6 separate regions of the Homo sapiens genome follow, and regions 1, 3, 4, 5 and 6 are each linked to region 2. The links are contacts of gene promoters, found by promoter capture Hi-C in blood cells and fetal thymus (Javierre and others, 2016). All regions are on one chromosome and are shown on one strand. The core of a region is centred on a gene start or on the middle of the fragment in contact, and the rest is flanking DNA. Distances in the headings are between cores, read along the strand shown. Region 1 holds the start of ZNF471 (zinc finger protein 471). Region 2 holds the start of ZNF329 (zinc finger protein 329). Region 3 has its middle 21 kb from the start of USP29. Region 4 holds the start of ZNF71 (zinc finger protein 71). Region 5 holds the start of ZNF835 (zinc finger protein 835). Region 6 holds the start of ZFP28 (ZFP28 zinc finger protein).

The links. The method cuts DNA at HindIII sites, captures the fragments that hold promoters and counts their contacts. A CHiCAGO score of 5 or more calls a contact.
Region 1: a contact is called between the fragment with the promoter of ZNF471 here and the fragment with the promoter of ZNF329 in region 2, in 5 of 17 cell types (naive B cells, naive CD8 T cells, erythroblasts and 2 more). The highest score is 5.9, in naive B cells.
Region 3: a fragment that was not itself captured here is called in contact with the fragment with the promoter of ZNF329 in region 2 in 7 of 17 cell types (naive CD8 T cells, total CD8 T cells, activated CD4 T cells and 4 more); the score reaches 13.0 in naive CD8 T cells.
Region 4: the fragment with the promoter of ZNF71 here is called in contact with the fragment with the promoter of ZNF329 in region 2 in 2 of 17 cell types (activated CD4 T cells and non-activated CD4 T cells); the score reaches 7.3 in activated CD4 T cells.
Region 5: a contact is called between the fragment with the promoter of ZNF835 here and the fragment with the promoter of ZNF329 in region 2, in 12 of 17 cell types (total B cells, total CD4 T cells, non-activated CD4 T cells and 9 more). The highest score is 19.9, in total B cells.
Region 6: a contact is called between the fragment with the promoter of ZFP28 here and the fragment with the promoter of ZNF329 in region 2, in 4 of 17 cell types (naive CD8 T cells, total CD4 T cells, monocytes and 1 more). The highest score is 9.0, in naive CD8 T cells.

Annotation. Positions count from the first base shown.
Region 1 is chr19:56,506,021-56,510,124 of GRCh38, forward strand. ZNF471 (zinc finger protein 471) reads left to right here and starts at 1,835. Exons shown (of 5, transcript NM_020813.4): 1 at 1,835-1,900. The HindIII fragment of the contact is 1,838 bases long and covers 1,408-3,245 here.
Region 2 is chr19:58,149,074-58,153,528 of GRCh38, forward strand. It overlaps ZNF329 (zinc finger protein 329), which reads right to left and starts at 1,716. Exons shown (of 4, transcript NM_024620.4): 1 at 1,679-1,716. RefSeq lists an enhancer at 1,793-1,852. The HindIII fragment of the contact is 7,703 bases long and covers 263-4,455 here.
Region 3 is chr19:57,097,482-57,101,418 of GRCh38, forward strand. No RefSeq gene overlaps it. Among named protein-coding and RNA genes, the nearest start is that of USP29, 21 kb to the right of the region's middle. The HindIII fragment of the contact is 7,444 bases long and covers 1-3,937 here.
Region 4 is chr19:56,593,083-56,597,244 of GRCh38, forward strand. It overlaps ZNF71 (zinc finger protein 71), which reads left to right and starts at 2,220. Exons shown (of 4, transcript NM_001370215.1): 1 at 2,220-2,346. ZNF71-SMIM17 (ZNF71-SMIM17 readthrough (NMD candidate)) reads left to right here and starts at 2,220. Exons shown (of 5, transcript NR_163263.1): 1 at 2,220-2,346. RefSeq lists a silencer at 2,182-2,571. The HindIII fragment of the contact is 22,646 bases long and covers 1-4,162 here.
Region 5 is chr19:56,668,558-56,673,019 of GRCh38, forward strand. ZNF835 (zinc finger protein 835) reads right to left here and starts at 3,200. Exons shown (of 2, transcript NM_001005850.3): 1 at 3,019-3,200. It overlaps LOC105372473 (a long non-coding RNA gene), which reads left to right and starts at 3,422. Exons shown (of 4, transcript XR_936110.4): 1 at 3,422-3,874. The HindIII fragment of the contact is 4,177 bases long and covers 1-3,294 here.
Region 6 is chr19:56,536,414-56,540,280 of GRCh38, forward strand. It overlaps ZFP28 (ZFP28 zinc finger protein), which reads left to right and starts at 2,535. Exons shown (of 8, transcript NM_020828.2): 1 at 2,535-2,813; 2 at 3,212-3,303. The coding sequence starts at 2,606. ZFP28-DT (ZFP28 divergent transcript) reads right to left here and starts at 2,321. Exons shown (of 3, transcript NR_183967.1): 1 at 2,012-2,321; 2 at 1,238-1,324. The HindIII fragment of the contact is 11,931 bases long and covers 1-3,867 here.

The DNA.
Region 1 (4,104 bases), core at 585-3,084, 1.6 Mb before region 2:
ATCTCCATCCTTTAGCGATGTAGACTGTATTTCCATACTGTAAATAGTCCCCTTGTGGTGGATTTCAATCTACCAATATGACATCACTGAATGTGGAGTTAGAAAGAAAGGTACAGTTCATGGCTCTCAGTTCCTACAGCTCTTTTAATTTCCTAAATGACTGCAGCAATAAAGTATCTTTTGTTAAAATATCTGGCCTTTTGTTCCTGGTTCCTGAAAAAGCTCCAGAACAGCTCCAGAGCCATAAAGGTGAAAGACAGTATTTCAACCACACATGAGTTTATGTTAATGAGGTGATTTTTGGAAACTCTCAAGATAATCCCAATATTTGGGGGGAGTGGTGGCTAGTTGCCAGAGGAACCAGCCATGTGCTCAGAGGACTGGAACTCACAGCTCCACCCTCTACTTCTGGGAAAAGAGAGAGCCTGAAAATTAAGTTGATCGCCAGTGGCCAATGATTTAATCAATCACATCTACATAATGAAACCTTGAAAACCGAAAAGGCCTGAGTTCAAGCGGCTTCCAAGAAGGTAGACAAAAACACATCCTCGTGCTGGGAGGGTGGTGCACCCCAACTCCACGGGCACAGAAGTTCCTGCACTAGGGATTCTCTCGGACCTTGCCCTACATGTCTCTTCATCTGGCTATTTGTATCCTTTAAAATATCTTTTATAATAAACCAGTAAACATAAGTGTTTCCTTGAGTTCTGTGAGCTGCTCTAGCAAACTAATGGAACCCAAGGAGCCGGCTGTGGGAGCCCCAATTTATAGCACATCTCTCTGAAACACAGGTACAACAATCTGGAGTTTGGAATTGGCATGGGAAGTGGGGGACAGTCTTTTGGGACTGAGCTGTCTAACCTGTAGGATCTGATGTTTTCCAGGTAGCGTCAGAATTGAATTGGAGTAGCGGTCACCTGGCTGGTGTCTGCTGCAGACAGGTTTTTTTGACATGTTAAGACATTATAAGAGACAATAGAAAAAATGTATACGATACAACCTTCTCTGAGTTATATTTCTCCATAGCCCTTTTTACTGTTCATCAGACTGTTTATCTAACTCATGAATTTGTGGCTTGTCTCTCTCCGCTTCAAAGTAAATTACATAATAAGAGGACAGGGATTTTTTTTTCTCTGCTGTATCCCCCTGAATTGCTTTTCCTTATTTGTCTCACCTTCCAATACTAATTCTACAGTTCTCCTAGTCAGGGCTAGTCCCCTAAAACGGGGACCATTTCCATTTTGTTAAGGGGCTGAACGCGGTTCAAGCCTAGCAGATTGGTTCCAAAAACGTCGTGTTATTCACTGCCTCTGATCAGTGACATTCCCATTTGCAGCTGAAAGAGGTATTAATTCGCCAGAGTCACAACACGGTCGGGGTTCCTCGTCGCTGTCTTATTCCAAAATAAGCTTAACACAGAAAGATAATGACACTCCCACGGACTGGCACAGAAGGCCGCGCTCCGAATGACATCGCGATCACAGAGGCACAGACAGCGTCACAAAGCCCCACGCGTACTCACACCGAAGGCTCAGCCGTCGCGCGTTTCCCTCCCAGGCCCCAGGAACTAGTAACTAGGGACGCTTCTGGTCTCTAGGCGAGGAGAGGGGGAGAGCGCAATCTTTGCGCCTGCGCACACTCCTGCTCTTACCCGCCGGAACCCTGGGCCACGCCCGGCTCGCGTAATCACGCACTGCGCAGGCACCGCCCGCTCTGCTCTAAGGTCCCTCTCACTCCTTCAGCAGCCCGAGGACAATCCCCTCAACACTAGGCCACGCCTTGTCTCCGCCCCTCTCGTCCGACCCCTGGAGAGAGGCTGGCGCCTGCGCGATGGGGGGTTCCAGCGTCGACTCACGGAGTCCTTCGGATGAGAGCGTCTGGGTGCCAGACGAGGCCGGGGGTTTGTTTTGGGTGGTTTGGGAGTCCGAGCTCGAGGGCTGGGCCAGGAAGGGCAGGCGAGGCGGGCGGCTCCGACGCGGGTCGCGAAGGCCCAGCCGCGTCCTCTGTCCCCAGGACGACTACATTTCCCAGAGGCCAGCGGGGCGCGCGTACTCGAGTCTGCGGGGCGGAGGCCGCGGCTCGGGGCTGCTGGGCGTTCGGGGCGGCTTGGGGCGGCGGGACCACTGGAGTGAGCTGTGGGAGAGATGGGGGTGTGCCTGTGTGTAAAAGATCTGTCAGAGTGTGAGGCTCCGTGAGAGGGTGTGGTTTCTGTGTGTGTGTGTGTGTGTGTGTGACAGACCGAGAGTCCAGTGTGAGACCAGGGTATGTTCGTGTGTGACAGAGCGAGACGGGCCAGTGTGAGAGACCAGTGAGTGTGAGAGAGATAGGGATGTGCCTGCATTTGAAAGAGAGCGTGTGAAGCTCAGTGAGAGGTTGCGAGGTGTGTGGGTGTGTAAGTGTGTAACAGACCAGGTGTCCAGAGCGTGAGACCAGGATGTATTCGTGTGAGAGAGTGAGACGGGCTGGATGGAGTGTGAGAGACCAGTGAGTGTGAGAGATGGGCGTGTGCCTGTGTGTGAAAGGCCGGTCGGTCGGTGGGTGAGGCTCAATGAGAGGCCGGTGTGTGTTCGAGAGAGAGAAGAATCACCATGTATGCGAGACTAGACTGTGCAAGAACAGAGTGTGAGACTGTGGTATGTTAATGTGTGAAAGGGAGACCAGTGAGTGTGAGAAATGGGTGTTTTGGGTGAAAGACCCGTCAGTGTGTGAGGCCGTGTTATGTGTGTCTGACAGACTGAGAGAGACCAGAGTGTGAGACCAGGGTGTGTTCGTGTGTGAGAGACAACATAGCGTGAGACCAGTGAGTGTGAGAGAGATGAGCACGTGGCTGTGTGTGAAAGACCAGTCATTATGTGAGGCTCCTTGAGAGGCTGGTGTGTGTGTATGAGAGAGAGAAAGAGACTAAACTGTGAGAGTCCAAAGAGTGAGACTAGGTTATGTTGTTATGAGTTTGTGAGAGAGAGGGAGGCGATCAAAGTATAGGACAAAGTTATGTTTCCTGGCTTACGACTTCTAAGATCCTTGGAATCTCCAAAGTATTAAGTGTCTTTTTGCATGCTAATGATTGGTGGGCTGGCAGCCTGTAGGTTGATCACGGTAAGGGATGGTCACAAGAACAATCTAGGCAGGATTAGAGGGTTGGGATTACCTGCCCCATCCCTCAATCTCCAGGGAAAGGAAAGGGAGCCACAGGTTAAACTGATCATCAGTGGTCAGTGATTTAACCAGTCATGCCTACATTATGAAGCTTCCATAAAAACCCAAAAGGACTGGGTTCATCAAACTTCCAGATAGCTGAACACTGGAGGTTCCTGTAGGATGAGCCCCTTCCTATATAACCTTGTCCTATGCATTTCTTCACCTGCATCCTTTGTAATATCCTTTATTACTACAAACGTGTTTCCCTAAGTTCTGTGAGCTGCCCTAGCAAATTAATTGAACGCAAGGAGGGGGTCATAGGAACCCCGATTTATAGCTAGTCAGAAGCACAAGTAAAACAACCTGGGGTTTGCAACTGGCATTGGAAGTGGGGAGCAATTTTGTAGGGCTGAGCCCTCAACCTGTGGGATCTTATGCTGTCTCCAGGTAGATAGTGTCAGAATTGGGTTGCCCTAGAGGTCACCCACCTGGTATTCACTGGGTTGCCCTAGAGGTCACCCACCTGGTATTCACTGAAGAACTTATTGCTTGCCTGGTGTGTGTGTGTGTGTGTGTGTGTGTGTGTGTGTGTGTGTAGATCCCCACACATCTGGTCTTAGAACTGTTTTGTGTTGTGTGAGTGGAGTAGGAGAAACAGTTTGTTTTTCCTCTTTGTCACCTGAGTGTGTTATCAGGGACTGGATTGTGAGAATCCAGAGTGTGAGACCAGGGTATATCAATGTGTGAGAGAAATAGATGTGCCTGTGTGAAAGATGAACAAGTATGAGGCTCCCTGGAGTCTGAGAAAGATCATGTGTGTGTCTGAGTAAAAGCAAGAGACTAGACTGAGAGTTCAGTGATTGGGAGAGACTGGGGTATGTTGGTGTGAGTGTGTGAGAGACCAATGGGTATGTGAGAGACTAGAGTATGTCTCTGTCTGGACTGGTAGGTTGTGAGAGGGTGTAT
Region 2 (4,455 bases), core at 466-2,965:
GTAAAGGTGGCTAAAACCCACCAAAACCAAGATGGCAACGAGAGTGACCTCTGGTCCTGCTCCCACTAGCACCATGACAGTTTACAAATGTCATGGAAACATCAGGAAGTTACCCTATATGGCCTAAAAATGGTAGGCATGAATAATCCACCCCTTGTTTAGCATATAATCAAGAAATAACCATAAAAATGGGCGACCAGCAGTTCTTGGGGCTGCTCTATCTATGGAGTAGCCATTTTTTTATTCCTTTACTTTCTTAATAAGCTTGCTTTCACTTTACTCTATGGACTCGCCCTGAATTTTCTTTCCCAAGATATAAGAACCCTCTGTTGGGTTATAGCTCGGGACCCCCTTTCTGGTAACACCTATGCATGTGTCTCAGGCAGGGAGAAGATAAAGATAAAGCTAATGTGGCAAAAAGTGTTAATAATTTTAGAATCTGGATGGTTTTAGAAGTGTTAAACTATTCCTGCAACTTCTATGCAAATGCGGAACTTTTCAAAATGAAAAGTTGGGTGAAGAGAGAGGTAAACAAGCAGTAGAATGGAGGAAAGTCACTTGCTGTGGGAAAAAAGAAAAAACAGACAAAAACTGGGTATTCAAAACGTACTTCAACAAGCCCAAGTTCCTATAGCCAAATTTTTTAACTTGGCAAAAAATAAAGGACCTTTTCAGGCTGATGGTAATTTTAATAAAGGTTTAGGTTGCATTTGTCAAAATTCATCAATGGTACAGGGAATATCTGTGCATTTCACTGAAAGTCAATTTTGGCTCAAAAAATTTAAAAAAGCACTACTGAACTCTAATTCATGGTAAGCATAGTGAGGTGTTTGAGGGAGAAGTGTTGTGATATCTGCAACTTACTTTGAAATGTTTCCAAAAATAGGTGGATTAATGAATGGCTGAAAGGATGGACAGAAGGAAAGATAAGGGATACAGTAAGTTCAGCAGACGTTAACCGGGTCGTTCACTGCACAAGTCTTTCAGCTTCTCTATCTAAACCAACATTTTATGTCATAAAATATTGAGACTGGAAGACTGCACAAAGGAAATATGCCACTAAACCAAGGGAAAAGACAGCAAAATGGTCACTAAACACGTGCAAAAATGCGGCCCTCACTGAGAATTGCAGTAAAACATGATTTTGCAAATATCAAATGGAAAAACACACAGGTGATCTAACACCTTCGAGACTCAAGGGGAAGCGGCTCAGCCCACTGGCTCACGGCCGCCAATTCAGCCGGAGGCCGACCCAAGCCTACACTGCCCCTCACACCTGACAGAAAAGCTGCAGACTCGGGGGTTACCCCCGGAGACGGACCAGGACACCCAGCAGGCGTGGCAAAACAGTCTCTATGGGAGGGCGGGCTAGAGATGCGAGCGCGGAACTCACGGGTGACGCTAAGGAAAGAGCGGGGGCGTCCAGACCAGCCCCGGAGCGACCTCGTCCTCAGAGGAGTGACCCCAATCGCCACGGAGCGTCCCCACCCACCAGGAGAACTACGCCCCTGGCCAGACCCTCGCCCTAGCGGGCCCGACATGCCCACCACCCAGGTGAAACCCACCCGCGGACGCGCCCCTCGCCGCCCCACAAGGACCCGGCGGACCTCCACCCGCCAAGACTTCCCTCCGCAGGAAACGGAGGCAGCGCAGGGCTCAGGGATGCGTCGGCACTTACGGTTGGCGGCCGGCGGCAGCCATGTTCCGGGCGATTGCGCTTGCGCGGCTGCCGGGACAAGGATGTGCGCGTGCGCGGAGTCCCCGAGCTTCCCCCGCCCAACGCTGGGGCGGCCGCGGGTACCGGGTTATTCATTACCCTGGCGTGGACTTGCCTCGGGGCGGACGCGCAGGCATTTACTTTCTCCTATGGTCTCCTCTGATTTTTAACCCGATGCTATCATTCTTTTGTTATAGAGCCTTCCTTTTATTTACTGCATAATTTCCTAAAATATTTCTTTATCTATAATCTTTTTTTGAGATAATAATGTTAAAATTCAGAATAAGTACACTCATTATTCATTGGCAATATAATTATTTACTGGGTGCGTGGCTCACGCCTGTAATCCCAGCATTTTGGGAGGCCTAATTTGTTAAAATGACTAGATCTAAGAAATGTAAACAAAGCCAGTAACTTTCCTCTGTAGTAACAATAGCCGGTTGAAAATGAAAACTACACATTTTCATTCTTTCAGTGGTTCTCTTAAACTTTAGCATGGGGAAGCCTAAATATTTACTGACAGGGAAGAGAGAAACTGTGGTATGTGCAACGGAGCAATAGGGGGTGGTTAAAACAAACGGACTGGGCTCACCTAAGGTCAGGAGTTTGAGACCAGCCTGGCCAACATGGTGAAACCCCGTCTCCACTAAAAATACAAAAATTAGCTAGGCGTGGTGGCAGGCGCCTGTAATCCCAGCTCCTCGGGAGGCTGAGGCAAGAGAATCACTTGAACCTGGGAGGCGGAGGTTGCAGTGAGCTGAGATCGTACCATCACACTCCAGCCTGGGGGACAAGAGGGAGACTTCGTCTCAAAAAAAAAAAAAAAAAAAAGGACTAACTTATATACAAGATAGACAGTTCTCCAAAAACAGTTCGAAAAGTAAACTGTGCACTTATCCACATGATACAACTTACCTGGAAATAAAAGACACAAAATCTATATGTTATACAGAGATTGATACATAAGTAGTAAAGTAACAATAACATGGACCAGATAGATTGTCCAACCTCAAGAAAGTGGCAACTGAGGGGAAAGAGTTGGGGAGGAGACAAAGGAGACCTCAGTTACACCTGTGATGCTTGATAGGAAAAAACAAATCAAAACCTGAAAATCTGACTACATGTTAACACAGGTAAAATCTCGATGATACATGGGTGTCATCTTTATTATTTATAGATTATTCTATTACTCTCCGAACCTCTCCGCAGGTTGAAATACTTCACAATTTTGAAATGAAAATTAGAAAAAAAATTCTAAGCCATAATAGTGATTAAATTGTCACTCACAATAGTGATGGTTGGAGCAACTTGGAAATCAATTAGCAAAAGCAATAAAGGATCTTCATGAAGAAAATACAAAAACCTCATTAACAGACCTGAAGTTAAGTTCAGAACACACTGACATATTATTCCTGAATGGAAAGTATTTTTTTAATTTCTCCATGAAGGCCGTATCAGACCAGGCACAGTGGCTCATGCCTGTAATTCCAACTCTTTGGGAAGCCGGGCTGGGGGGATCACCTGAGGTCAGGAGTTCAAGATGAGCCTGGCCAACATGGTGAAACCCCATCTCTAAAAATATAAAAATTGGCTGGGCACAGTGGCTCATGCCTGCAATCCTAGTACTCGGTCTCAAAAAAAAAAAAAAAATCTTCACAAAACTACTAAACAAAAGTATAGCAATTCCAATTCAAAGACTCCCCCCGCCCCCAGCTCACAGAATAAAACAACTTAAAGATCATATGGAGAAAAGTCCAACAGTATCTGGTTAAAAGAACAGTCGGAGACCGGACGCGGTGGCTCACAACTGTAATCCCAGCACTTTGGGAGGCCGAGGCAGGTGGATCACTTGAGGTCAGGAATTCAAGACCAGCCTGGCAAACATTGTGAAACCTGTCTCTACTAAAAATACAAAAATTAGCCGGGGGTGGTGGCGGGTGCCTATAATCCTAGCTACTCCGGAGGCTGAGGCAGGAGAATTGCCTGAATCCTGGAGGCGGAGGTTGCAGTGAGCTGAGATCGTGCCACTGCACTCCAGCCTGGGTGACAGCTATACTCTCGTCTCAAAAAAAAAAGTCAGGCACCCTTTATTAGATACTAAAATGTACCATATTAAGCAGATGGGCTCAAATAGGCACTAATACAGACACAAATATCAGAAGAATAGAAGAGTATGCAAGAAGAGATGAGTAAAAGTAATAATCTAGTAATAAAGTTAACAATAAAGCATAACATCATTAATAATAACAAGGGTGTTTTTTCCATTCAGTGGCAAAGAGAAATCCTTAGTGCTAAGTACTGTGCTGGCACAAGTGTATATTCTTTTTTGTATTTTTTGAGACTGAGTCTCACTCTGTCCCCCAGGCTGGAGTGCAGTGACAAGATCTCAGCTCACTGCAACCTCCACCTTCCAGGTTCAAGTGAATCTCCTGCCTCAGCCTCCAGAGTAGCTGGGATTACATGCGCACACCACCACACCCGGCTAATTTTTGTATTTTTAGTAGAGACAGGGTTTCACCTTGTTGGCCAGGCTGGTCTCAAACTCCTGACCTCAGGTGATCCACCCACCTCAGCCTCCCAAAGTGCTGGGATGACAGGCGTGAGCCACTGCGCCTGGCCACAAGTGTATATTCTTGTAGGTCACATGTAGGCAATCTTTTTCTGTGAAAAGCCCAATAATAAATATTTTCAGCTTTGCAGACCATAAGGTCTCTGCCATGACTACCCAACTCTTCCAG
Region 3 (3,937 bases), core at 812-3,311, 1.1 Mb before region 2:
AAACATAGCAAGATCCCATCTCTACAAAAAATACAAAAATTAGCCAGGCGTGGTGGCACACACCTGTAGTCTCATCTTATCTACTCAGGGGGCTGAGGTGAGAGGATCGCTTGAGCCTGCGAGGTGGAGGTTGCAGTGAGCCGTGATCGCACCACTGCACTCCAGCCTGGATGACAGAGTGAGACGCTGTCTCAAAAAAAAAAAAAGCCATATTGATAAAATTATACCAAGATATATTTAAATACAGAATTAACTGTGTATCTATACTTTATATACATGTATGAATATATTTGAACATTAAATTATAATTATGAACATAAATTTGCATCATATATTCTACTTATGTCTCCCTGGGCACATGTCTGTATGTGTATCTGTGGACACACGTCCATGAAGAAATTGGATGGGATGAACTCGGGAGTAAGTTAACTCTGTCTGCGTCCTGTGCACCTGATGCAGCAATAAATACTCCATCAAAGGCATTGCATTTCCCAAAAGCCCGTGAGGCAGGCGTGATTCTAGTGTCCATTTTACAGAGAAGAGTACTGAGGTGTGGAGAGACTAAGTCGGCCAGCAGTGAACACCCTCAGCCACTGCTCGGACAGCTCTCGCTCACCTCCCTGCATCTCCGGCTCCAGACGCCATGGTCTCCATCACTCTCCCTCACTCGGGATCTCATGCCGGCTCCCGGCTTGGATCACAGACGCTGATGGCTCAAAAACGTGTGTCTGGGTTAGAGAATCCACCTGTCTCCCTTAGCTCTGCACTGGGGTTGCCCAATTTAATAAATAAAAATACAAATTGCCTGGTTAAATATGGATTTCAGATAAACAATAAAAAAGAATCAACTTTTATTTTAGAATCGACTTAGATTTGGCGAAAAGTTGCAAAGAGAATAGAAAGTTTTCCTTGTTCCTGCACCCAGCTTCCCCTGTTAGTAGCGTCTTACACGAGTATGATTTATCTCAATATTAGTGAACTGGCCAGGCACGGTGGCTAACACCTGTAATACCAGCACTTTTGGAGGCTGAGGCAGGTGGATCACTTGAGGTCAGGAGTTCGAGACCAGCCTGGCCAACATGGTGAAACCCCATCTCTACTAAAAAATACAAAAATTAGCCAGGCGTGGTGGTGAGCACCTGTAGTCACAGCTACTCAGGAGACTGAGGCATGATAATTGCTTGAACCCAAGAGGCAGAGGTTGCAGTGAGCCAAGATTTTGCCACTGCACTCCAGACTCGGCAACGAGTGAGACCCTGACTCTAAAAAACCGTAAAAATAAAAATAAATAAATAATTGCCAAGTGTGGTGGCTCATGCCTATCTATAATCCCAGCATTTTGGGAGGCAGAGGTGAGCAGATCACTTGAGCCCAGGAGTTCAAGACCAGCCTGGGCATCATGGCAAAAACCCTTCTCTACAAAAAATACAAAAATTAGCTGGGTGTGGTGGTGCAGGCCTGTAGTCCCAGCTACTCGGGAGGCTGAGGCAGGAGGATTGCTCAAGCTGGGGAGGCTGCAGTGAGCCAAGACAGCGCCACTGTACTCCAGCCTGAGCCACAGAGTGAGACCCTGTCTCAATAGAAAAACAAATACATAATAAATACATAAAACGCCCATGGCAGGGACACACACGCTGGTTTGGGTTGGAGCCAGCCCGTAAACCCAAATTTGGGGGCCCGGGCTCTCGGCTGCTGCAGCACTGACTACCGTTAAGGTACAATAAAACTGACACATGGGCAGTGAGGGGAATTTGCTCTCCTGCCTCCCTCCCTAAGTTCATCTGCTGAGAAAAATGCTTTGAGATAAACCTGGAGCCACAGCTCTCTGCACAGTCAGATCGCAGGAACGCGGCCTAGCTGCTTCAGCCACGTTCTCGCGGCGCCACCTGGTGGCCATGGACCGCCATCGCCGCTGGACGTCAGGGCCGCCAGGCCCAGCGAGATGTCACCTCCTCTGAGGAGCCTTCCAGGATCGCACCCGGCACGCGCTCCACGCCTCGTTGTCTGTTCTTCGGAGCACCGACCATGATCACAAATCAGCTCGCTCGCTGTGTTTCCTGCCGGGTCGCTACCGCCATGATCCGCACGTAGTGGTCAAGGCTGAGGTTGTATGAATGTGGACGTTATAACCCTGGCTCCCTCTCCCTCCCTATGCTGGGCTCCCCTCGATCCCCAGGCGGTGGGGTGCCCCTGGTTTTTCCTTTTTAAAATTATAAGTCTGGCCGGACGCGGTGGCTCAGGACCGTAATCCCAGCACTTTGGGAAGTCGAGGGAGGGTGTATCACTTGAGGCCAGGAGTTCAAGACCAGCCTGGCCAACATGGTGAAACACCATCTCTACTAAAAATACAAAAATTTGCCGGGCATGGTGGTGTGCGCCTGTAACCCCAGCTACTTGGGAGGCTGAGGCAGGAGAATCGCTTGAACCTGGGAAGCAGAGGTTGCAGTGAGCCGAGATCTCCAGCCTGGGTGGCAGAGTGAGCCTTCGTCTCAAAAAATAAAAAATAAAAAAAAGGTTAAATCAATTTAAATGTCAATGTCCACAGGAGCTACAGATGGTACCAATAGCTCCCAGCTGGGGCTCGTGTATCATTGGTCAGGGCTTCATCAGGATTGGCTACTGCCCCACCCTTGTTAAACATTTTTAATATCTTCCTTGTCTACCAGGGTCAGGCACCTCAGGTAGATGAATGAAGGATGGGGGGGATGGGGGAGGGAGATGGAAGAGGGAAGGGAAGCAGAGGGAGGAGGAGTGAGTGGGCAGCCCTGATCGGAGGTCCCTCCCCATCCCATCTAAAGGGGCTCCCTGGCCGGGCGCAGTGGCTCACACCTGCCATCCCAGCACTTTGGGAGGCTGAGGCGGGTGGATCACCTGAGGTCAGGAGTTCAAGACCATCCTGGCCAACATGGTGAAACCCCGTCTCTACTAAAAATACAAAAAGTAGCCGGGTGTAGTGGTTCATGCCTGTAATCCCAGCTACTCTGGAGGCTGAGGCTGGAGAGTCGCTTGAACCTGGGAGGCGGAGGTTGCGGTGAGCCAAGATCGCCCCACTGCACTCCAGCCTGGGCGACAGAGCGAGATTCCGTCTCAAAAAAATAAAAAATTAATAAAATAAAAATAAATAAATAAATAAATAAAGGGGCTCCCTGCTCTTCTGCTCCAACCTGTGGCTGCCGCATAGGAACATGGGTCACAAAACCCAGAAATCTGGATTCCTTTAAGTGAAATCTTCCAAATTTTATGTTTAAGAAGGTCATGTATTTATTCCTTCCTAAAGACCATGCTGACCAAATCAAATGAGTCTGTGGATAAGTGTGTCCAGGCTTCAGACTACTCCCTTTTGGAGCCTGTGGTGTAAAGGGAACAGCTTAAAGTCCCTCGCCCCAGTCAACAGGGGAATTTAATGTCTTGGGTTCCCTGGCAGAACTTTTCTGTTTTTTTTTTTTTTCTCTTTATCTAACACTTCCATGTGTCTTACTGAAAGCCAGCTGCAGAGTTAGAGCAGCGTTTGGCAGAATCAAATATGGACTAGCGCTTGCTTCTGTACGGCCCTCAGGTTAAGCATGGATTTTATATGTTCAAATTGTTGAAAATAAATCAGGCCAGGCACAGTGGCTCACACCTGTAATCCTAACTCTTTGGGAGGTCGAGGCAGGAGAATCGTTTGAGCCCAGGAGTTCAAGACCAGCCTAGGCAACATAGTGAGACCCCCCACATCTCTACAAAAAGTTAAAAAATTGGCCGGGTGCGGTGGCTTAGGCGTGTAATCCCAGCACTTTGGGAGGCCGGGGTGGGCGGATCACCTGAGGTCAGGAGTTCAAGACCAGCCTGGCCAACATGATGAAACCCCGTCTCTACTAAAAATACAAAAGTTAGCTGGGCGTGGTGGTGAATGCCTATAATCCCAGCTACTTTCGGGAGGCTGAGGCAGGAGAAT
Region 4 (4,162 bases), core at 970-3,469, 1.6 Mb before region 2:
TAGTCAACCTCATAGAAACAGAAATTAGAATGGTGGTTTCCAGGGGCTGGGGGAGGTGAGAAGACGTTACTCAACGAGTATAAAGTTTCTGTTATGCAAGATAATTAAGTTCTCTCTATACAGCAACTTGAATATATCTCCAGAGAATTGTGCTGAATGAAAAAAGCCAATTCCACCATTCACATACTGTATGATTCCATTTGTATAACATTCTTGAAATGACACAATTGTATATATGGAGGATAGACTAATGATCGAGTCTGGAGGAAAGTGAGTGTGGCTATAAAAGGGCAAGATGAAGGATCCTTGTGGAAATATCGGAAGAGATCCTTGTGATGGAAATGTTCTGTCTCTTGAATGGACCGACGTCAGTATCCTACTTGTGATATTGCAAGATGTTGCCCTTGGGTGAAATTACCTAAGAGACATAGGTCTCTCTGTATGATTTCTATATTATGTTTTACAACCTGACGTGAATAAATCCACATTTATCTCAGAATAAAATATTTCATTTAAATACATCATTAATCACCACCTAAGGCTAGCTGCTGTTGATGGTTTTGTGGCCACTTGGACATTCAGCAAATGTTTTTAAACTTGGCTTTGTGGTTTACTATAGAAAAGGGTCTCAGCCAGGCATCTGGTTCCTACCTTTCCTCTTGTGTAAGCTCCCCTGTCTGTATTACCCAACTAATCTGGAAAGTAGCTTGGCTGTGAAGATTGTTTATAAATCATAAAATGTGGAGACCAGGGGTCAGAACAAAGGAAACTCACAACAAGGATTAATGCTTTTTTTCTTATATCTAAAGATATAGGGAATTGACATTTAAAGATCTAGTTGTTTTTTATTTGCAATTCTAGAATCCAGCCACACCTCCTTCTATAAAATAGAACTAGTGTTCTGGTGATCCAAGCAGAGGAATATGGCTTCATACACAGAAACGGGCTGAGGAAAGCAGAAACAGAGAACAAGAGTGGATGGGTCATTTCAAAGTTACTTTCCCTATCATGGTTAAAGCAAAGGGGATTTCTTTTATCATGCCTGCTAAACTGGCCTGTTTGGGACTTGGCTATTATCTCTCTCTTTCTCTCCTGAGAGGAGGTCAGGTAACAACTTAGTTGGAGTTGGTGGCCTGGAACTTCAGCATGAGTAGCTCCATTTCGATTTGATCTGTTGGGCCTAGTGCAGGAACTCAGTCCAAACCGATAGTCTCCTATACATTTTATTCTACACCTATGCTCATTTTCTTCTTTGCACATCTGTATGCTTAAAAAGTGTTCTTTAAAGATAAGCATGATTATCAGGTTTAAAGTTGCCTGGGATGGTCCCTCAGGCCAGTCCATTGGCTGGACTGCAGAAATGTCTGCAGCAGATGTGACACGCCTCTTTTATCCCCCTCATTTCTCTGCCTCCACCCATCCCTTGTCCTTTTCTGTTTTCCTTCCTCCCTCCTCCCTCTCCTTACCCATTCTTTCCTCTCTTCAGCCTGTCCTGCCCTCCCCAACTCGACTTCCTCTTTCTTTCCTCCTTTTCCCACCCTTTTCTTCTTCCTTATAGTCCTTTCCACCTTCTCATCCCCCTTTCCACCCTTTCTTCCTTCTCCTCCTTGCCGTCTCCATTCTCTTCCTTTCCTGCCTCCCTGCCCCTCCCTCCTCCCACCCGCTCCCTCTTCTTTCTGTTGGTTCCTCTCCTCTCTGACCTGTTCTTTTCCCTTAGTCTCTCCCCAGCCCTTCCTCCTTCCCCTCCATCCTTCTTCCAACCCCTCCTCCTTCTCCATCTCTTCTTCTTCCTCCCCAGCTCTCCTCCCCAAGTCCCTCTCCATCCTCTCTCTTCTCCCCGCTCCTCCCCATCCCTCCTCCCCTTCCATCCTTCTTCCCACCTCTCCTACTTCTTTTCTCCCTCCTCCCCCCTTCCCTCCTGTCCCTCCTCCTCGCCCCTCCTTTCCCTCCGTCTTTCTTTCCACCCTTCCTCCCTCCGTCTCTTCTCTCTCCTTCCCTTTCCCTGCCTCCTCCCCCTCAATCCTCCCTCTCGCCCCAGCCTCCTTGGCCGCGGAGTCCTCTGTGAGATGGAGGAGCTCAGTTGGCTCCGCTCGGCTCCACTCGGCTGGGCTCGGCTGAAAAAAGCCGGGGGGAGGTGGCGCGCGCGGGTTTCTGGGAAGCGTAGTCCGGCGCAGTCCGCGCAGGCGCACTGCCGTCGGGCGGGCCTAGCGGGCGCGGTCATTGTCCTGGCAGAGCGGCGAGCCGGTGAGTGTGGCTGCGGGGTCGCGCCCACCCTCTACCTGTGCCGGGGGCCGGAACCTGGCCCCGGGGAGGGCGCGGCCTCGGGGAGACGGCGTGCAGGCCCAGGTACGGGGAGTGCAGGGCTGGGTGCTGGTCCAGGGCGTGCGGGCGCAGGAGAGGGCGTGCAGGCCGGGACCGAGGTGCGCCTGGAGAGGCTGAGCGGCCGAGGAGAGGCTGAGGGGAAGCTGAGGGGCTAAGGAGAGGCTGACTGGAGGCTGAGGGGCTGAGGAGAGGCCGGGGCCAGGGAGGGAGAGGCGTGAGTGGGTTGGAGGTAGGAAAGTTGCATGAACACGAGGGCCATCCTGGGGGGAAGGTGGCCTGTGTGAGAGACAGGCAGTGCATATCATCCTGAGGATGAGGCTGTGTCTTTGTGGATATTGTGAATGTGTCTGTGTGTGTGTCTGTGTGGGTCTGTATGTGTGTGTGAGACAGATTGTGTCGTCCTGAGGGTATGGCTGTGTCTCTGGATATTGTGATTGTGTGTGTGTGTTTGTGTGTGTGTGTGTGTGTGTGTGTGTGTGTGTGTATGAGACAGAGAGAGAAACTGCGTGTCGTCCAGAGGCTGGGTCTGTGAATGAATGTGAATGTGTCCATGTATGTCCGTGTGGGTCATGTGTGGTAGCGTGTGTGTGTGTGTGTCCCACTTCTTCAGAGTCTTGGTCTCTCTGTGGAGCTGTGTCTCTCCAGGTCTCTGCCTATGCATGTGTGGTGATATCTCTGAGTGACTGCCTGTGTCCTTGTCTTTGGTGTTGTGGGTGTGTCAGCCTTGATCTCTGTCCATGAGTGTCTCTGTGGGAGGGTGCCCTCTGGGTGTCCACTATGTCTGCTCTTTCCATGCATGTCTCTTGGCATGAGTGTAGGGCTGTGTCTTTCCAGGGGCCAGTCCTGTCTGGATCTTTCCTATCTCTGTGTGTCCACCTGTGTCTAGAGTATTTCTTGATGTTTGCGTGTGACTCTGCAGGGGTGGGTGCGTCTGGGTGTGCCTCTTCCAAAGACTATATGCCTGGACAAGGGAGCCTAGCAGAGCCACTACCTTCTCACCCTACGCTTCTCCTAGTCTGCCTGCCCACAGTTCCCTGGCTTTTTCCTGCCCATAGAAGGCTCTGGAGGCGTAGGGGCCTGGGAGTGACAGGGGCCGGGTGGAGGAGGGGAAAAGGAAGGCTGTTTCTTCTGCCTCCCACAGGATCTTCTTAAAGTGGGATCAGACTCCCAAAGGGTCTCTGTGCCCTACTCTGTTCTGACCAAGGAGAGGTTGATTTGTTCAGGGAATGTGTATGCAGCCAGTGCTGGCCATTTATAGATGTCCCAGTAACTCTGAGGTAGAGACCATCATCATCCTTATCTTACAGATGGGGAAACTGAGTCTCAGACTAAGTGACTCACCCAAGGCTACCTCAGGCATCCAGGTTCCAGAGCCCCCACAATTAACCACCAGACAAATGGGAGATCCCTTTTTTCCCTTTCCGCTCAGCTGACACAAGGTTGCAGGATTTTCCCCGAGGGAATCCCCGCTTGGAAACAATGGAAATGGAAGAAAGGAAGGAAATGCCAAAAAGCTCAGAGGAAGAAGAATCCAGATCTAAGGCCAAACTGGGTTCAACAGCCACTGGCCATACTCTTGGGCAAGTCACTTCCAGGGCCGCTGCATGATTTTTAAGGGTACTTTGCCTTCATGGGCCCCTTGCTCCATTGTTTTTTTAAAGCACTAAAAATTACATTTTGTTATTTCATTAATAGGAAGACAAATGTAATCTAGGCTGGATTAGATATTTTCTTATGATTTTAAAAGAAATTAAGACCTTCCTATGGGCCCCTAAAGGTTTCATGGGCCCCATGCTCTGTGCCTACTGGGTAAGTGGGCTCTGGTCACTGCTGTGATCTG
Region 5 (4,462 bases), core at 1,950-4,449, 1.5 Mb before region 2:
TTCTTTCTGCCTGACATGCTCTTCCCGCAGCGTGTGCCTCAGCAAGAGGACAAGAGGAGACCCTGAGGGAGTGATGATGTTTGTGTTCAGGGTGGAGAACACAGCAAGTGCAAAGGTCCCAGGGCAGGATGGTGACAAGGGTGGCAGAGGAAAGGTAAAGGGGGTGGGGCTGGACAGAGCAACTGAGGTGCAAGGCAGGGGAGATGCGGTAGAGTGGGGTGGGGGTCAGCTCACACAGGAAGTCACGTGTGCTGGTAAGAACTTGCTGGTGGGGGCCAGGCTGGGTCGGCTCAGGTGCCACGTCCACCGGCATCCCCGGAGTGTGCAGGGGTACCCACCTCGTGTGTAGGGGGAGGGCAGGTGGGTTCACAGCGGGGTTGGGTAAACCTGGGTGTTGTGCACACACAAAGGAGCCCAAGGGGAGACACAGGCTTGCTTGGGGGCAGTAGAAGAAAGCTGTCTACTCCCAGCACTTCTGACACGTGGGCTTTCTCCACACCAACAACCAAGTCTCCAATCTGCTCTGACTGGGAGGCACAGGCAGCTACCAACCATAAAACTGCCTCAACCCCTCCTTGGGTTTGGTGATTTGCTCACATAGCTCATTGAACTCAGGGACATGCTTTATTTACGGTTACTGGTTTCCAATAAAGGATACAACTCAGGAACAGCCAGATGGAAGACACACAGGGTAAGGTATAAGGAGGAGCTCAGAGCACCATGCCCTCTCTGGGTGCTCGACAGCCCCAGAGCTCGGCAAACCCTAAGTTTAGGGTGGTTATGGGGGTTCCATGACACGGGCGTGACTGACATAGGTGTGATGACACTGGCCATCGGTGATGAACTCAACTTCCAGCCCTCTCCCCTCCCAGGAGGTAGGGGCTGGCTGAAGGCTGGAATGCTCATCAGGGCTAGCTCCCGTGGCAACCAGCCCATCCTAGGGGCCTATCAGGAGTCCTCCATTAGCATAAATGTACTTGGGGGTCTACCAGGAGTCCTCCATTAGCATAAATGTACTTGGGGGCCTATCAGGAGTCCTCCATTAGCATAAATGTACTTGGGGGCCTACCAGGAGTCCTCCATTAGCATAAATGTACTTGGGGGCCTATCAGGAGTCCTCCATTAGCATAAATGTACTTGGGGGCCTATCAGGAGTCCTCCATTAGCATAAATGTACTTGGGGGTCTACCAGGAGTCCTCCATTAGCATAAATGTACTTGGGGGCCTATCAGGAGTCCTCCATTAGCATAAATGTACTTGGGGGCCTATCAGGAGTCCTCCATTAGCATAAATGTACTTGGGGGCCTACCAGGAGTCCTCCATTAGCATAAATGTACTTGGGGGCCTATCAGGAGTCCTCCATTAGCATAAATGTACTTGGGGGCCTATCAGGAGTCCTCCATTAGCATAAATGTACTTGGGGGCCTATCAGGAGTCCTCCATTAGCATAAATGTACTTGGGGGCCTACCAGGAGTCCTCCATTAGCATAAATGTACTTGGGGGCCTATCAGGAGTCCTCCATTAGCATAAATGTACTTGGGGGCCTATCAGGAGTCCTCCATTAGCATAAATGTACTTGGGGGCCTATCAGGAGTCCTCCATTAGCATAAACACAGGTGTGGTTGCAGGGGGCTTATTAAGAGTTGCAGAAGACACTCCTTCTACCCCTGTCACTCAGGAAATTCCAAGGGTTTTAGGGGCTCTGGTACCAGGAGCTGGGGATAAAGATTAAACATATATTTCTTATTATATCACAAGATCACAGGAAGACACATGCATTACATCACACTCTGACACACACAGGGTCATACACAATCATACCTGCCCAGACACACACAGACATGCAGAGACACCCAAACCCATATCCAGGGACACACAGTCGCCCTCCTAACCCCCATGCAAGGAGGCAGGTGGGAAGCCATCACCTGCAGCCACACTCACACATGCACACAGGGTCCCGGGCACACGTAGCTACACACACACCCAGCCCCACACGTAGCTCCCTGTGTGAAGAGGTGCACAGAGACGCACAAGGTCACACATGCCACCTGCTCCACACAGGCCGGCCATTACTGGGACACACCCACAGGGGATGGCTGGACACATGTGCAGTCACACTCGGTGGATAGAGCTCCAGCATAGCCAAAGCCCACATGTGCAGCGTCTCCATCATGTGCAGATGCACACACTTCAGACAGCACGGCACTCTACAGGCTCGCACAGCCAGGTCACCCATCATTGTGCTGGCAGGCACACGGGCCGAGCCAGCCTACACGGCGGCACACCCAGACATGCACACGTGGGGTCACACACCTCACATCCAGGAGAACTTTCAGACTTGCCCAAAGGCAGCCACACGTGTATGTGACATGCTGTGATATGCAGACACCGCTTCACATGAACGAGCACATAACACACCGATAAAGTGTTACATGCCTTTACCTGCAGTCACCTGCCTGGGCTGGCACCACTGAGTGAGCAGGTGCAGACACAGTGACACTCGGGGACGGGCTCACAGGCAGTCACACACCTGCAAGGCCTGGCACCGCCGAGTGAGCAGGTACAGACACAGTGATGGGCTGGCACCGCCAAGTGAGCAGGGGCAGACGCTGTGACACTCAGGGACGGGCTCACAGGCAGTCACACACCTGCACCTGCTGGTACCGTCGAGTGAGCAGGTGCAGACGCTGTGACACTCAGGGACAGGCTCACAGCCAGTCACACACCTGCACGGCCTGGCACCGCCAAGTGAGCAGGTACAGACACAGTGACGGGCTGGCACCGCCGAGTAAGCAGGTGCAGATGCAGTGACAGGCTCACAGGCAGTCACACACCTGCACCTGCTGGTACCGTCGAGTGACCAGGTGCAGACGCTGTGTTACTCAGGGACGGGCTCACAGGCAGTCACACACCTATACGGGCTGACACCGCTAAGTGAACAGGTGCAGACACAATGGCACTCGGGGACGGGCTCACACGCGGTCACACACCTGCAGGAACACGCGCACACTACACACCGTTGCTCTCGCCTCCCGGTATCACCTTCGAACGCGCTGGCCGGCCCCCTCCTAGCCTGGTGCAGTCGGCTCCGCTTCTACTCAGTCTCGGGTCCTCCTGGGCCAACGCAGACCCTGGTGCCTCCTTCCTTAGACGAGCTAAGGTCAAGACTTCTGCTGCTGCGGAGGAGCCCGCGCACCAGGCCGGGGTGGACTGCGCCTGCGCATCGGGCCCGCCTGGTTCTTAGGAACTACGACTCCCAGGGGGCGCTGCGCGCTCGCCGGCACCGCGACTAAAGCTTGCAAAGCCTGGGTCATCGAAACTACAACTCCCAGAAGGCTAAGCGTCTGCACACGCTAGGTCCGCAGGGCGCTGACCCCTGGGGGCCCGAGGAGCGCCGGGCTGCTGCCCCGAGCCCCGCCCACTACAGCCTCAGTGCATGGCGGTGGGCGCTTCCAGTAACTCAGGGGTGGGACTTTTTTCTTGCTCAGGGGATGAGGCCGAGCCCACAGGCTTAGAAAGAAGGAACTTGAGTCCGGGCACCTGTCATCCCAGCGCTTAGGGAGGCCGAGGCGGGTGGATCACCTGAGGTCAGGAGTTCGAGACCAGCCTGGCCAATATGGCGAAACCCCCGTCTCTACTAAAAATACAAAAATTAGCCGAGCATGGTGGCATGCACTTCCAGCTACTTGGAAGGCTGAGGCGGGAGAATGGCTTGAACCTGGGAGGCGAGGGTTGCAGTGAGCTGAGATCGCACCACTGCACTCCAGCCTGGGTGACAGAGCGAGACTTCGTCTCAAAAAAAAAGAAGAAGAAAGAAGGAAGCTGAGGTTCAGACAGGCTAAGTCCCTACTGCAGGCTGCGGAATCTAAAAAGGTAGGTGCCAGGGTTTGCAACCCACACTTTTATTTTGGTCTCAGGTAGCTGATGTCATTCCAGTCTATGGCAAAGAAGGTGGCAAATCCATTAACATAGATGAAGAATTTCATTTTACTTTTTAGTTTTATTTATTTATTTATTTTTATTATGTATCATGCTTTTAATACAAACTTTAAAAAATCTGGAACAATAGAAACTGTACAGATTTGATCAATCTTTTTGTTTTGTTTTTAAACTAAAATCTCTAAACACACCAATGTCCTATTCCAAAATATTGCACAACATTCTGAATACAAAACCCTTGATTGTATTCCTCCTTCACTGAAGAAAAAACTTCATGACCCTGCTCCCCGGGCTCCTCTCCAGGCTTGCGTCAATGCCCCCTTCCCATCCCTAGGGAGAAAACTAGAGAATCTATAACTCACTGCATTGAGAAAAAGACATCATTCTGGACTAACAGTTTCCATTCTTCAGAAGATAATCCACCTTTTGATTTGTTCCTGGGAAACAGGGATAGATAGAGGATGGGGAAAGGGGAGAAAAGGTTTTATTTCTCCTCTTTTTTTTTTAAAGTTTGTTTTTCCT
Region 6 (3,867 bases), core at 1,285-3,784, 1.6 Mb before region 2:
ATTGTCACTTTAGGTAGGATTTTAATGTGTATGTTGTCCCTGAAGATTGGAATTCTTTCCCTACTTAAATTCTTTCCCTACTGTCCTTGTCCAGTTTTGGTATCAAGGGTGTCTAGTTTTAAATTCTCCAGTATAGTTTTATAGGATAAGGATTATTTATTGCTTTGGTATTCATGGAAAAGCCTGAGAACTTATTTAATGATTTTCCATTTCTTCTTGAGTCAGTTTTGGTACTTATAATTTTCTCTATGGTAAGCCCCTGCATATGTTTTAAATATATTGAGATAAGGTGATCACAGTATTTGCAAAATTCTAAAAATTTCTGTGATTATGTCCACTTTTTCATTTCTAATACCATTTCTTTGATTGTTTATTTCTCTTTTTTTCTGCTAAGCCATCTTTAGCATAACTTTCATCCTCATGATGCCAAGGTGGCTGTTTGCAGCGGACCCTATCCTTGTTGGACTGAACAAAGGATGACAAACATGGGAATAAAGACAAAGACAAAAGAGTATATTTGGAAGAAGAGGTCTGGGGGCTCCTTGCTTCCAGTGAACACAGGCCCTGAGCCTTTACAGCCCTTCGTATTTATTAGAGTGAATAGGGAGAAGGGGGGTGGTTGTCGGTCAGTAGCTTGATTTACAGCAGGCTTGCAAGACTGCATTCGTCAACCAATAGGCTCTAGATGTCCCATTAGATAACCTCAAGGAGCATGACACCAGGGAGTGATTGCCTTCAGCAAACCTTCTGGTGGCTGGAGCAGAAGCGACTTTGCCCACATTCTGCATTCATGATAAACAGTTTGCTGTTTGATCATATAGCCTCCAGTGGAATGTTGAGTTGGCCACGATCCCTTTGCCAGCTCTCTACAGCTGTTCTACCTGTTGACATCCTGTGTCATACCCAAGCAGGAAGAAGGTTGTGTGAGATGACAAAAGGCCAGAGTTACATGCCAGCTGTGTCTCTTTCCACACATCCACCAAACCCCCAGCAAATGTGTACTTAAAATTCATTGGTTACAGAGCCACTACTCCTTACAAGGAGACTGGGGAGGTGAGTATTATAAGCTGGGCAGATGGCCACTTGAAGAGCATCAATGTTCTGCTGTGGAAGGAGTGCAAAATAGACACCAGAGAGACCATTAGCAGTGTCTGCCACAGCTATTACATGGCTAGGTCCACCTGACTGAAACTAAGCCTTTTCTATGAGACTGAAGTGCTTTGAGAGAAATGCTGACCTTGTCCTTTCTGCAGCTTGCGGCTTTCAGTCACCCTTGGATTCAGAGATAGAAGTCATCTTAATTCCATCACTGAGGCCAGGAGACCTGAAAGAAATCAATTCAAGAGTAAGGAGACCAGGCGTGCAGTGTGACTGGGCGTGCAGAGGTCAGTGCATCTGTGATGACTGGTGTAACAGCATCACTGCCTGTGAGCCAGCAAGGCCCTTGGCTCCCAGGATGAAGCTCTCCAGTTCTGATAAGGCCCCTGGGGGAGAGACCGGTCCTAAACATGTTCAAGAATAAATCCATCAGCTAACTTCAGACCGTGATTCACACAGGAAGGGAACTTTAAGAGGTCGCCAGGGCTGGTATTTTTGAGACGTTAGGCAGCCCTCTCTGAGGCGATGACAAGTGAATGGCATAAAGGAGCCAGCCCAGACGAAAATTTGGGGTTAGACTATTTCGACCCAGGACGTGCAAATACATAGGTTACAAAATGGAAAATGGTATTTTGGAGGATGGGAGGCCCGTGTAGCCAGAGATAATGGGAGAAGGTGAGGGGGCACCCAAAACAATCCCACAAGCTCTCTACATCCCCCTTCCTAGCCCACACACATCACCCATCAGAGTGATCCTCCGGACTCCGGAGGCCCCCAAGATTGCCTTTCCCTTCCCGGTCGGCAGTGACGCTCCCGCAAGGAGCTGACGCCCAGGCCCTTAGCACCTGTCACAGCCAAGCACCCTTTTACTCCGGCCCTGCGGTCCCACCCCTCGCCGCAAGCCCCGCCTCACCCGGTCTGCCGCTGCGCCTGCGCGACTCCCAGAAGCCTTTGGGGGGTGGGTGTGTAGTCAGAGCGGCCTCTGCTTCCGGCCACACCCAGGCCCAGCGTTGGCCACCACTTATGCGGCGGCTGCGGTCCAGGGACAAGTGAGAGCGACCCGCAGAGGGCAGGACGGACGGGCGTTGCATAGGCCCGGGGCCAAACCGTATCTTGCAACCTGAGCTCCGAGGGCCGCCGCATCCGTCCCTGCTTGGGACTACGCTTCCCAGCGGGCATTGCGCCGAGGCCACGCCCGGTTCCGGCGGCGCTGCCTGCGCACTGGAAGTGGGAAGCGCCGGGCTTCTCTAGGCTGAGGGGCGGGGCGGGGCGGGGCGGGGCGGGGCGGGGCGGGGCGGGGCGGGGCGGGGCGGGGCGGGGCAGCGGGGAGGGGTGGGGAGGGGCGGGGCGCGGCCGGGGGCGGGGCGGCTCCGCGGCGCGGCCCAGTGGATGCCGGGCCATGGGGGAGCGCGCGCGGGGCTGTTCGCTGGGCGTGGCGGGCGGGTGTGGCCAGGGGTGTGGGTCTGTGAGGGACCGGTCGGAAGGGCGTCGCGCGGCCTCGGGTGACATGCGGGGGGCGGCGAGCGCGAGTGTCCGCGAGCCGACGCCGCTCCCGGGTAGAGGCGCCCCCCGCACAAAGCCCCGGGCGGGCCGAGGCCCGACTGTAGGGACTCCAGCCACCTTGGCCCTCCCTGCCCGGGGAAGGCCGCGCTCAAGGAATGGCCTCGCATCCAAAGGCCAGCGAGGAGCGGCCCCTACGGGGCCTGGGCACAGAGGTGAGAGTGACAGGTGTTTGGGGCCGAGCGGACAGGGACGAATTCATCTCGGGATGAGATCTGGGAGGGGGTTGGGCTCTCGGGGACCAGTTGCTGGAGAACTGTGCCCCTGGTCTTTGAAGCTGGTGGAGTGGGAGAATCTGAAGATTTGGAAGCTCAACTGATTCAGAGCAGCAAGCCGCGGTAAAAGGGTGTTGACTTTCCCAGGGTGACTCTAACTAGACGCTTTTCCTGTTTTCGTGCTCCCAGGGAGGAAAAAAACCTATCTCCACGTTGTGGCAGTCCCTAGGCAGGGTAATGATCTGATCCCACCTTTTCATGCAGGAAGGGACGTTTCTAGGCTGGTGATTTGGGACTGTGGTGTAGACCTGGTCTCTAGCTACTCCTTTCTCTTTCAGCTCTGCCTTCCAGGGACACTGCTCTTCCCCAGGAGAGAAACAAGAAGCTGGAGGCTGTGGGGACAGGAATTGAACCTAAAGCCATGTCCCAGGTGAGTTGGCATTTCATCTCTTGTCTCTGAAATGCAGTCTTGCTTTTCGGGACTTAATGTTGCTTATTTTCTTGAAAGTTTTCAGTTTAAGAGACCTGTTTGGGCGCGGGTTTCTATTTCTTCACGTTCTAGTGAAGTGATGGGCTACGGGGAAAAGTTTAAACTGCCCGGGGCCTCGATGCCTGCTTCTTCTTCATCCCAATCAGCCTTCATTCTTGATTGATGAAATGATTCAGCCTCTCCCTTGTACCGCTTTTCTCAGAGGGACTCTGATGGAGGAATTGTGCCCCTTGAGGAACACGGCAGACTCTTCTGCTATACATGGTTTGTTTGGTGACCACTTTGTGCCAGCCACTGAGCAAACCAATAGCTAAGCCCTAGTCCCTGCTCTGGAGCTCACAGCCTGTTGACCCAATGTCAAGGAAACAAGCAAGATTCTAGAATGTGATCATCCTTGGGCCAAGTATTATGAGCGAGGACTACAAGGCGCTCCTGGCTTCCAGCCTCCTGTAGCGGAAGGGTAGGCCTATTTACCAAGGAGGTGATTTTTGAGCCTTGCCTTGA